Linked DNA regions of Homo sapiens: regions 1 and 3 are each linked to region 2. Evidence: promoter capture Hi-C in 16 types of primary human blood cells and fetal thymus (Javierre and others, 2016). All regions are on one chromosome and are shown on one strand. The core of a region is centred on a gene start or on the middle of the fragment in contact, and the rest is flanking DNA. Distances in the headings are between cores, read along the strand shown. Region 1 overlaps BCLAF1 (BCL2 associated transcription factor 1). Region 2 holds the start of SLC18B1 (solute carrier family 18 member B1). Region 3 overlaps LOC124901408 (a long non-coding RNA gene).

Region 1 (3,443 bases), core at 406-2,905, 3.5 Mb after region 2:
ATCCTTTTCAAATCAGTATTCAGAAGACAAGTCAATTATCCCTGACTAAAACTGTTTTCACCTGCATGACAGGTACTGTCGATTAAAGACACAACTGAAGATTTTTACGGACTGCCCCACTTATGAGCCTCAATCCTAAAAGGCAGCAGCTGCAGAAGCCAGAAAAAGCAATGAGACTGCAGCAGCATGTTATGTGTTATTCCACGCCCAATACAAATGCCTACCCCTCCTGTAAGAAAGATAAATAATAAAGGTACTACAGATAAGGCAACTGAAATAAAATAAAGTGTCACAATACTAACAAAAAATAAACCTACCAGGCTGTTATCATAGTGCTTTATGGCCTTGAAAATGAGACTGAACTGACCACTCCATATACACAATCCTGTCTGGAGTGGTACTAGATAGTATCCTAGAACAATACAGGACACTAAGTTTCTAAACAGCTGGAGCCATGGCTCTGCTCTCAGTACTCATGACTCCAGAATAAAGTGGACTTATGTGACAATGCCTAGTTCACCCTGAAGCTTTCTGTTAAGAAGATTTAAAAAGAATAAAAGATAAAGAATTGGAGGGATTACTTCAAGAAAGATTTATTAGAACTACAAGAAAAAAAAAACTTGGGCACCAGTAGTTTAACTTTTCTAAACACTACATGGTATCCAATGCTATAATTAGACCTCATTGGGTACAGAAATCAGTAACTGTCAAAACTAATTGATTTATAAGATCTACTAATTGAAAAAACATACACATATAGCAAATCACTGCATGCATATCCCAAATGTCACATTTTCAACTTTTCAATGATTAGATTATATCTTAGCCTCTCAAGCTTGTTTTTGCTGCATAGAACTATTTCCAAATTTACACTAACTTACTCAAAAAGTATTCATTTCAATAAAAATCAACTTACTAAACTTCTAACACCTTGCAATTCCCATAATACTTAAATAGTATCTCCTACAACCAAGTATTTTTGAAGGCACTTTTTTACCTACCTAGACTTTGTTCGGTATAATAAAATAGTATTTGGAGGTACTAAGATGAGTTCAGTTATAGAAGAAGTAATGGTAATACTTGGATAGTTCCTCATCAAGCAATATAAATAACAAATTCAAGATGTTTGAGATAAATGCTTATTTCAAAATAAAACATAACTATCCTCTAATAGACTACCACCTTTGTCTTCTCTCACTCTTCTTCTCAATCCCAAGTAAGCAAGAAATACATAAAGACAGAAACAAAACATAGGTTCAGGGTTCAAAAAGGCAAAGTAAGAATTCCACAACACATAAGAAATAAATTTAGCATTAACATAAGGAGATCTGACACCTTGTAGAACACAAATTTGGTTTAGCAACTGTAGTTTTGACAACATAATGAAATTGGCAAAAACCACATTTACAGCCTGTAAAGGAAGGAATCTTGGCCACGGGGAACTGTGACATTCTCTTGCATCTGATTTCAAAATTCTGTCCCTCCCAAAGTTTTTAAAAGAATATAAATACGTAATTTACATTCATTCTGATCGAATTTACTTCAAGATATTTATTTTTATCCCACTCTGAGATAATCAGACACACTATAAAAAGAAACCAGAGCTGCAAATGATTTTGGAGATCCAGTCCAGCAATAAGACAACATCCTTTTTCATTGTACTAATCAGTAAATAAAACACTATTTTACTAAGAGCTACAGATGCTGTGTTGTGCTGTATCTCCAGAATCTCTGTTCTTTGCTCTTGAGGCTTTTTGGATGGTAATTTCTGTTAAAGGATTCAGGAATTCTGTAGGCTTTTTCAGTCACCAGGATGTAGCTGGGCTTGTGGCACACGAGCACAACAGGTATTTAATAAATAACTATAAAATGAATGCATTCCCCAGAACCTGGACATTTTTTAAAGCAGCAAGTTCATTTTTAAAGGTTTGCGTTTTGCTTTAAGCTACACCTGAAACTTCAAAAACTAACGGAAAGAAAGCATGCCTATCAAATAGTTAGCAGTCCAAAAGAAATGGATTGATATCTTCTGCTCTACTGCAAAAACAGGGAAAAAGCTAAGAACATGGTCTCTGCATTTAAACTACATGAATTCAAATTCCTTAAGCTCTCTGAGCCTGTTCCTCAACTGTAAAACGAAGAAAATAACAGTACCTACTTCACAGACTTGTAGTGGACTTAATGAGTTGATGAACTTAATTCACTTAATACATCTAACACATTAGCAATCAATTTGAATTACCTAAACACTACAGTAGAGAGAAACAAGTTATGAATCTCCTCTTGTTTACATTAGGGAAATGGGTTAAGTAGCAGTCTTTCTATCTTGTATGTCCTGAGTCTTTTAGTAGATGTGTTTATAGAAATAGAAAAAGCAGGAGCACAACCTGGAAGAAGACAGAAAAAGAACCTTTTTCCTAAAACTAACTTAACATCTGACTTACTTCATACAAGCCACCAAAATAAACAAAAAACAAAGCTTCGGACCACATCATTTTTAATCACTCCATCTGAATCATCAATTCAGTAGTGACATTTCCTCAAAAAAGTCAAAAGTGAAAACTAGAAAAATGAATGCTCTTTTACCTTGGTTTTATGCAGGATCAAGAAGTCAAGTGAAGTCTTTGAGATACTGTAAAAATTCTTCCTGGAGAGAATGCTCTGAGAAATTAAACTCTAAATTCGAATTCCTAGCAAAGACAAAAAAACCATTATTGTGATTTATGTTAAATTAAATAACCATTATTTACAATGCATATAATGGGCACTGCCATAAACTCTAATAAACGCACTTACAATTTCAGGGAAGGAAAAACTAATTCAGGAAATAGGAAACTTTTAACCGTAAAAGCTTAAAATTCAACTTTTTTGTAAACCACAATGCAGTAGCGTATCATGAAACTGACAGCATCTTTTTAACTACTTGAATTCTAATTTTAGTAATTTGAGCCTTAAAAAACATATGATATGTCGTTCCATCAGAAAATTCCAACGTAGCTAACATAATGCCATCTTGGTAGCGGGGCAAGGTAGCACAAGCCTGTAGTCCCAGCTACTTGGGAGGCTGATGCAGAAGGATCACTTGAGCCCAGGAGTTTGACACTGCAATGCACTGTGATCACACCTGTGACTAGCCTTGGCAACACACTCTAGCCTTGGCAACACAGCACGACCCCATCTCAAAAAAAAAAAAAAAAAAAAAAAAAAGGTAATCTGTAGTTAATTTTCATAATGCTCTACTTTATAACATCTAAAATATGAGTTTAATGCTCTGCTACTTATTCTCTTTTGGTACTTCCTTTCACACAATTTAGTTTCATGTGAAACTGATTTTTAAATCCACGTTAACAGCCATCATAGTAACTTTAAATTCTGTGCCTAAAAGCATCTTGATACGTCTACATTCAAATAAAAGAACAGTCAGCAATGAAACTTTTATCTAC
Region 2 (3,738 bases), core at 599-3,098:
CTTTTTGACTGGATTTTTTTTCCTGGTATCAGGCATTCTATAAGAAGTATTCTATTGGCTGGAGTTCTATACACCATCTGTCCTATATGCAGATTTTTACATTTTATATACTATAAAATAAAATAATTCAAAAGGCTTTTAAAAAACAAACAAACAAAAAAACAGAGGTCCTAAGGATTTAAAAATGTCTTACCTCTTTGGGGAAAAACGGTCCAAGTATAGAATAGCACATCATGGAACCTAAGTTCACCGAAGCTGCCGATATCAGTACAAAAACCTGTTCTCTCGAAAGCCACCCGGGGGTCTCTCCTGCACTTCCTGCAGGATCATCACCTTGAATGCAAACATGCAGCAATTAGGCATATAATTGAGACTACTGATTAAAGTACACAAATGTGATTTCTGTGCACATATGTTGCACTCTGAAGATATCATTTGCTAAGCTTAGGGCTATTTTGAATATAGCACATTTGATCAAATGGAACACAATCCTTGTACATTACTGCCGTTTTGAAAACGTACTGCTTTCGGCTGGGCACGGTGGCTCACGCCTGTAATCCCAGAACTTTGGGAGGCCGAGGCAGGCGGATCACGAGGTCAGGAGATCGAGACCATCCTGGCTAACACGGTGAAACCCCGTCTCTACTAAAAATACAAAAAATTAGCCGGGCGTGGTGGCGGGCCCCTGTATCCCAGCTACTCGGGAGGCTGAGGCAGGAGAATGGCGTGAACCCGGGAGGCGGAGCTTGCAGTGAGCCAAGATCGCACCACTGCACTCCAGCCTGGGCTACAGAGAGAGACTCCGTCTCAAAAAAGCAAAACAAAACAAACAAACAAAAACAAAAACAAAAACAAAAAACAAAGATTTCTAAGGCAGTATTGAAGTCAAATGAAGTGTAAGTAGGAGAAAACAAGCTAAATCATTCAGCTGGTGAATTAATATTTACAGCGGTATGCTTCTGGATAGACAAGTCCCACAAATTCATAAATAAATACTTTTTTTTTACCCTAATTACTGGTCTTTTACATCAGTTAATTTAACACTTATTTCCAGGGCTAAATTGTCATTTAAAAACACGAAATCAATTACTGAGTTCCAAATATCCAAGCAAATCCATCAGCCATTTATAAATTAAATTGTTTTTAGGAAAAACTTAAGAGAAATACATTTGCTTTGCTCTATTTGTCAGAGGTTGCCATTGCAGTCCAGAAGGAAAAAAAAAATCAGTGCAACATGAGGAAGTCTTACGAATCTTTGTAAAATGTTTGTAGTAGATGAGAAAGGGAAATGAAAGTTAAAAAGAAAGGCAACAACAATGGGTACTTGAAAGGTAACGTTTTACATTTGCCTAATGGCATACTTATTTGAATGCATTAAACACACAGTACTTAAAAAGCAGAGGTATAGGTTAGAAAGTCATTAGAAACCGTGACACATATCCAATCCTGGAACTTTACCCCGTCCAGAGAGAAAAGAAACGCTGGCCCGAACCCCACGATCAGGCCCCAGCCTTTTCCAATCTCTCGGAAACAGATCAAGCTATAAGCAATTCAATCGTTGCTAAAGAGACACGCCGGAAGCCGCCGCTGGTCTCCGGGCTCCCGGCCACGCAATTCATGGTCACCTCCTGGTGCGCGTGGTCCCTCCAGGTCACCCAGCGCCTCCATCCCCGGTGCGTGGACTCCGGCGCCCCAGCTCCCGGCTTCAAGCCACGTCCTTGGACTCGACCTCCAAGGAGCCACTGGCACTCTGGCGGGCGGCCGCTGCTCAGCTGGAACCTGGCATCCCCGACTCCCTGCAGGCAGCGATCCGCCCGGCCCGGAGCTCCCCAAAGCCTTCCAGGACTCTGGGTCCCCGGGAGGAGGCCGGGGGCGGGGCAGGGGTGGAGCAAGGCTCCTTTTTTTTTTGTTTTGCGCCCCCCCCCCGCCTCATTATCTTAATCCACCACCTCAGCTGCTATATCATGGTGTCCTTTTTCATTCTGTGACAGAGAGTGAAAAAAGATGAGTCTATATTCCATACAGCTGTACCCCCCTCAATCTTAAAATAAGTTCAATTTATTCCTACGAAACGAAAGAAAGGAAGCTTATGTAGACACAGAAAAGGCAGGGAGTACCTCAACTGAAAGACACAAAAGTGAATTAGAAAATTAGGTTATACAGGAACTTTGAAAGAGTGAATTATTTTTCACAGTGGGTAAATGCGGTAGTGTTCGTAATTACTGAAGCCAGACACTATTGAACCGGAAATGAATTAACCTATGTGAAGCACCTGGAGTCGAAAAATATTTGCAAGAATACTAATGAATATCGAGGAAGCATGGCGAAGTGGCTAGGAGTGCGACCTCTGGAGGCAGGTGCCAGGGATTCAAGCCAGGGCACTTGCTGGCAGTGTGTAACTTTGGATGACAAGGTCAGTTTCTCTACCTGTACAACTGAGATTATAATGTTTATCTCGTAGGGCGGCTGTGAGCATTGGCGATAAAGTGTGTTAGTAGTTAGCACATGAACATGATGGCTGCTACCTTACTCTCACACTCACAGTTTTCTTGCATAAAAAATAGGTTTCACTTATTTTCACCGTATTTACTATTTGGGAAGTGTTAAAGCTCGAGGACTGGCTGGACACGGTGGCTCATGCCTGTAATCCCAGCAGTTTGGGAGGCCGAGGTGGGCAGCTCACCTGAGGTCAGGAGTTCTAGACCAGCCCGGCCAACATGGTGAAACCCTGTCTCTACTATAAAAATACAAAAAAATCAGCCAGGCGTGGTGGCAGGCACCTGTAATCCCAGCTACTAGGGAGGCTGAGGCAGGAGAATCGTTTGAACCTGGGAGGCGGAGGTTACAGTGAGCCAAGATCCAAAAGAATTGTGTGAGGGTAGCTTTATCGACTGAGAATCTGCCTCAGATCCACTGTACAAGGTCAGTTCCAGTACACAGTATGGCTGATAGTAAGTTTGTAATTACTGTGCCACCTCATTCCAGCCTGGGTGAAAAAGCGAAACTCTGTCTCAAATAAATAAATAAAGTTTAAGGACTGGGAAATTCTTGTTTTGAAGCCAAAGCAAAACAAAAGACTGAGTTACCACTTTGTGCCAGGCATTATGAATTTAAAGAGGAATGAGCCCCATCCAGACTCTGCCCTCAAGTAGCACACCTTCTAGCAGATGAAATTCACACTAATTAATAATCTACTATAATGCAATCGGTTGTATACAAACATATTGGAAGAACCATTTACTTTGGCAAATGGGTCCTGGATGACTTCCTGAGGAAGTGATGTTACCTTGGTTCTTGAAGGTTATGTAAAAACTCCCCAGTGAGGGCCGGGCGCGGTGGCTCACGCCTGTAATCCCAGCACTTTGGGAGGCCGAGGTGGGCGGGTCACGAGGTCAGAAGTTCGAGACCTGCCTGACCAACACGGTGAAACCCCGTCTCTACAAAAATACAAAAATTAGCTGGGCATGATGGCACCCAGCTACTCAGGAGACTGAGGCAGGAGAATCGCTTGAACCTGGGACTCGGAGGTTGCAGTGAGCAGAGATCATGCCATTGCACTCCAGCCTGGGCAACCGAGCGAGACTCCATCTCAAAAAAAAAAAAAAAAAAATTCCCCAGTGGGCAAGTTGTAAAGGAGAACCTAGAGAACCACTCTGAACAGAAAGTTCCACTCTAAGCCAGGTGCTGTGGCTCACGCCTGTAATCCTAGCACTTTGGGAGGCCGAGGCAGGCAAATCA
Region 3 (3,643 bases), core at 241-2,740, 3.5 Mb after region 2:
CATCACTGGCAATTTTTAAAACATTTTCTTCCTTTGCTCTTCTGTATTTTCTAAAATTTCTACAATAAAAATTACTTTCATAATATTAATATCAAAAAACTTTTAAAAATGTAGACCATTGAATTTTATTTGAATTGTGTAAGATAATGAAGACCTAAAAACTGAGAGGTCTTGTTTTTGTTTTTTGAGACAGAGTCTCGCTCTGTTGCCCAGGCTGGAGTGCAGTGGCACGATCTCAGCTCACTGCAACCTCCACCTCCCAGGTTCAAGCAATTCTCCTGCCTCTGCCCCCCAAGTAGCTGGAATTACAGGCATGCACCACCACGCCTGGCAAATTTTTGTATTTTTAGTAGAGACGGGGTTTCACCATGTTGGCCGGGCTGTTCTCAAATTCCTGACCTCAGGTGATTTGCCAACCTCGGCCTCCCAAAGTGCTGGGATTACAAGCGTGAGCCACCTCGCCCAGCAAGTTTGTGTGTGTGTGTGTGTGTGTGTGTGTGTGTGTGTGGTTCTTCCAAATCAAGCGTAAAAGCTCTCATTTAATAAACAAGAAGAATAAGGATGGGTATGGTGTCTCATGCCTGTAATCCCATCACTTTAGGAAGCCGAAGAGGGAGGATTACTTACACCCAGAATTTGAACTGTGTGAGCCACTGTACTCCAACCTGGGTGACAGAGAGAGAACCTACCTCTAAAAAATACAAACATACATATATACATAATAAAATATCCATTACTAAATCACAATCTTGATAAGCCTAATTATAAACTGCTGCTAGGAGAATATTTGCTTCCAGAGAGAATCTTTTAGATTTGTTTTTGTGGGATTTTGGGGTTTTTTTTTCCTAGAGTGCTCTATAGTCCTCTTTTAGCTTCATGAATCTTCTGTCGAGCAATGAAGGGGAGTACTTGGTTCAACAAGAGAAAAACATATATAAAATTGTTTGCTTCCATTTAAAAGGAAACTTTACACTGAATTCCAACCAACTGTGATAGATAGATCTAAAAATGGCTTAATCCTTTGCAAGACAGTTATTTTTCAAAGTTCTATTTGTCATATTAGGGTCTGGCTAATTATGTTAAAAGCACCACTGGCTGATTTCTTAAGTTCCATTTTAGAGAGTATAGTGAAAGCACAGACCTGACTTTGTGTTTCTAGTATTTGTGCCATTATTTTTTAATCTACATTATTAAGCTTAACTTTGTACTGTAATGAGGTTAATTTCTACCCACACAAGCCCATCCAGTAGCTTTTCCTAAACACATTCATTCTTTGTTATATATTCCAGGGAGATATTTCTGTCAATGGCATGTGAGATGATCTATTCACTCCATGATGAGATGCTTACTGTTTGAAAACAAATTCATTCACATGCTTAAAAATTGCTCAGGAGCAGGAACTATACAAATATTTATTGTTATTGGCCATTTATAATTTATTCATAGTGATCCAGCTGACAACCATCTGGTGCATAAAACTGAAAATTGGAAGAAAAAAAGAGTAAAAGTCCCTGGAAAAATATAATTTAGTCTCCATATGTCTTTGATACATATTCAATACAATTTATTACTTGCTAGTGGTATGAGATGCTCTATAATAATAGATACATATATGAAATTTAACACAAAGGGAAATTGACATTTTACTCAAAAATGTATGTTGAAGGACAAAGTGAAGACAGTAGTAATAATACAGTAATTAGCAAATGTACATTGGCAAAGATAGTATAAACTAGGCTGTGGTAACAAATAGACTCCGGAATACATAATGACTTACATGCAATAGAAGCTTTTTCTCAAACAGTCCAAGACAGTTGAATTAGGTTGGTAAGTATTTTCTCCATGCAGTGATTCAGGGCCCTAAGCCATCTTGTGACTCCATGGATAGAACTCAGGGGTCTACCAATTCCCAAAGAATCCGTGGATAGAATTCAGACCTGTCACTATAATTTGTTGTTGTTGTTGTTGTTGTTTTTAATTCAATAGTTTTTTGGGTACCGGTGGTTTTTGGTTACATGGATGAATTCTTCAATGGTGAATTCTGAGATTTTAGTGCACCCATCACCCAAGCAGTGTACACTGTACCCAGTATGTAGTCTTGTATCCCTCACACCTCTCCCAACCTCCCAGAGATGTCGCTATATTTGTATGGGAAAAATTACATCCCTGTTGGGGCCGGGCGTGGTGGCTCACGCCTGCAATCCCCGCACTTTGGCAGGACAAGGCGGGCGGATTACCTGAGGTCAGGAATTTGAGACCAGCCTGGTCAACATGGTGAAACTCCATCTCTACTAAAAATATTTAAAAAATAGCCAGAAATGGTGGCAGGCACCTGTAATCCCAACTACTCGGGAGGCTGAGGCAGGAGAATCACTTGAACCCAGGAGGCAGAGGTTGCAGTGAGCCGAGATCGTGCCACTGCACGCCAGCCTGGGCAACAGAAAGAGACTCTGTCTCAAAAAAAAAAAAATAAATAAAAATTACATCCTTGTTAACTTCAAACTGAAATTTATCATTTCCCTTAATTATGAATGTAGGCAAAACCACAGAAGTATTACCAGTACTTATGACTTTGTAATAAATAAAAATCACCGATTTTTAAAAAATCATTACTGTTAGGCCAGGCATGGTGGCTCATGCCTGTAATCCCAGCACTTTGGGAGGCCAAGGCGGGCAGATCACAAGGTGAGGAGTTGGAAACCAGCCTGGCCAATATGGTGAAATCCTGTCTCTACTAAAAATACAAAAATTAGCCAGATGTGGTGGCGCATGCCTGTAGTCCCAGCTACTCGGGAGGCTGAGGCAGAAGAACCACTTGAACCCGGGAGGCAGAGTTTGCAGTGAGCTGAGATGGCACCACCGCACTCCAGCCTGGGCAACAGAGCCACAGCGAGACTCCGTTGCAGAAAAAAAAAAAATTGTTTTGTAGATCTTTCAAAGAGTTGTTTCTACTTGGAATGCTTTCAAAATTATAGTAGTTGTATACCCGCCTCTAGATCCTCTACTTTAATGTATTTTTTAAAAAGCATATTATCTTAACCTTTACGGTAGCTCCCAGTGATCCTGGTTTCCTGGCATTCGTACCCTTGTGTAATCCCCTTCCAGTAACAGAATATGGCAGAAATGATGGGATGTCATTTCTGAGATTAAGTGTACTGAATCTATGTTCTGTACCCTCTCTTCGAGCACTTGCTACAGGGGAAGTGAACTGCTATGTCCTGAGATAACTGAGAGGTTGTGGAGAGTGACTCCATGAGTCTGTGGAGAGGTCAATATGACAAAGAACTGAAGCTTGCCAATAGCCATTTGAGTGAGCTTGGAAGTGGACCTTTCCCCAGGTAATGCCTCCAGATGACTGCCTATTTAGTTGGCATCTTGATTGTAGCCTTGTGAGATACCCTGAGCCGCAACCACCCAGCTAAGCTGGTCTCAGATTCCTGACCCCCAGGAATGTGAGAGAATAAATGTTTTAAGCTACTAAGGTTGGAGAGAATTTATTATATATCAATAGAGAGCTAATGTATACATATATCATTGTATCACTAACTTACTTTTTTTTTTTTTTTTTTTTTTTTTGAGAGAGTGTGGCTCTTGTTGCCCAGGCTGGAGTGCAATAGTACAATCTTGGCTCACTGCAGCCTTT

Evidence for each region. The method cuts DNA at HindIII sites, captures the fragments that hold promoters and counts their contacts. A CHiCAGO score of 5 or more calls a contact.
Region 1: a contact is called between a fragment that was not itself captured here and the fragment with the promoter of SLC18B1 in region 2, in 1 of 17 cell types (total CD8 T cells). The highest score is 6.6, in total CD8 T cells.
Region 3: a contact is called between a fragment that was not itself captured here and the fragment with the promoter of SLC18B1 in region 2, in 1 of 17 cell types (non-activated CD4 T cells). The highest score is 8.8, in non-activated CD4 T cells.

The regions. Positions count from the first base shown.
Region 1 is chr6:136,279,998-136,283,440 of GRCh38, forward strand. BCLAF1 (BCL2 associated transcription factor 1) reads right to left here. Exons shown (of 13, transcript NM_014739.3): 2 at 2,587-2,690. Among named protein-coding and RNA genes, the nearest start is that of BCLAF1, 8.1 kb to the right of the region's middle. The HindIII fragment of the contact is 1,644 bases long and covers 834-2,477 here.
Region 2 is chr6:132,796,789-132,800,526 of GRCh38, forward strand. SLC18B1 (solute carrier family 18 member B1) reads right to left here and starts at 1,849. Exons shown (of 14, transcript NM_052831.3): 1 at 1,626-1,849; 2 at 194-333. The coding sequence starts at 1,668. RefSeq lists an enhancer at 135-635 and a silencer at 1,867-1,916. The HindIII fragment of the contact is 1,643 bases long and covers 442-2,084 here.
Region 3 is chr6:136,297,951-136,301,593 of GRCh38, forward strand. LOC124901408 (a long non-coding RNA gene) reads left to right here. Exons shown (of 4, transcript XR_007059784.1): 3 at 3,187-3,338. Among named protein-coding and RNA genes, the nearest start is that of BCLAF1, 9.9 kb to the left of the region's middle. The HindIII fragment of the contact is 594 bases long and covers 1,194-1,787 here.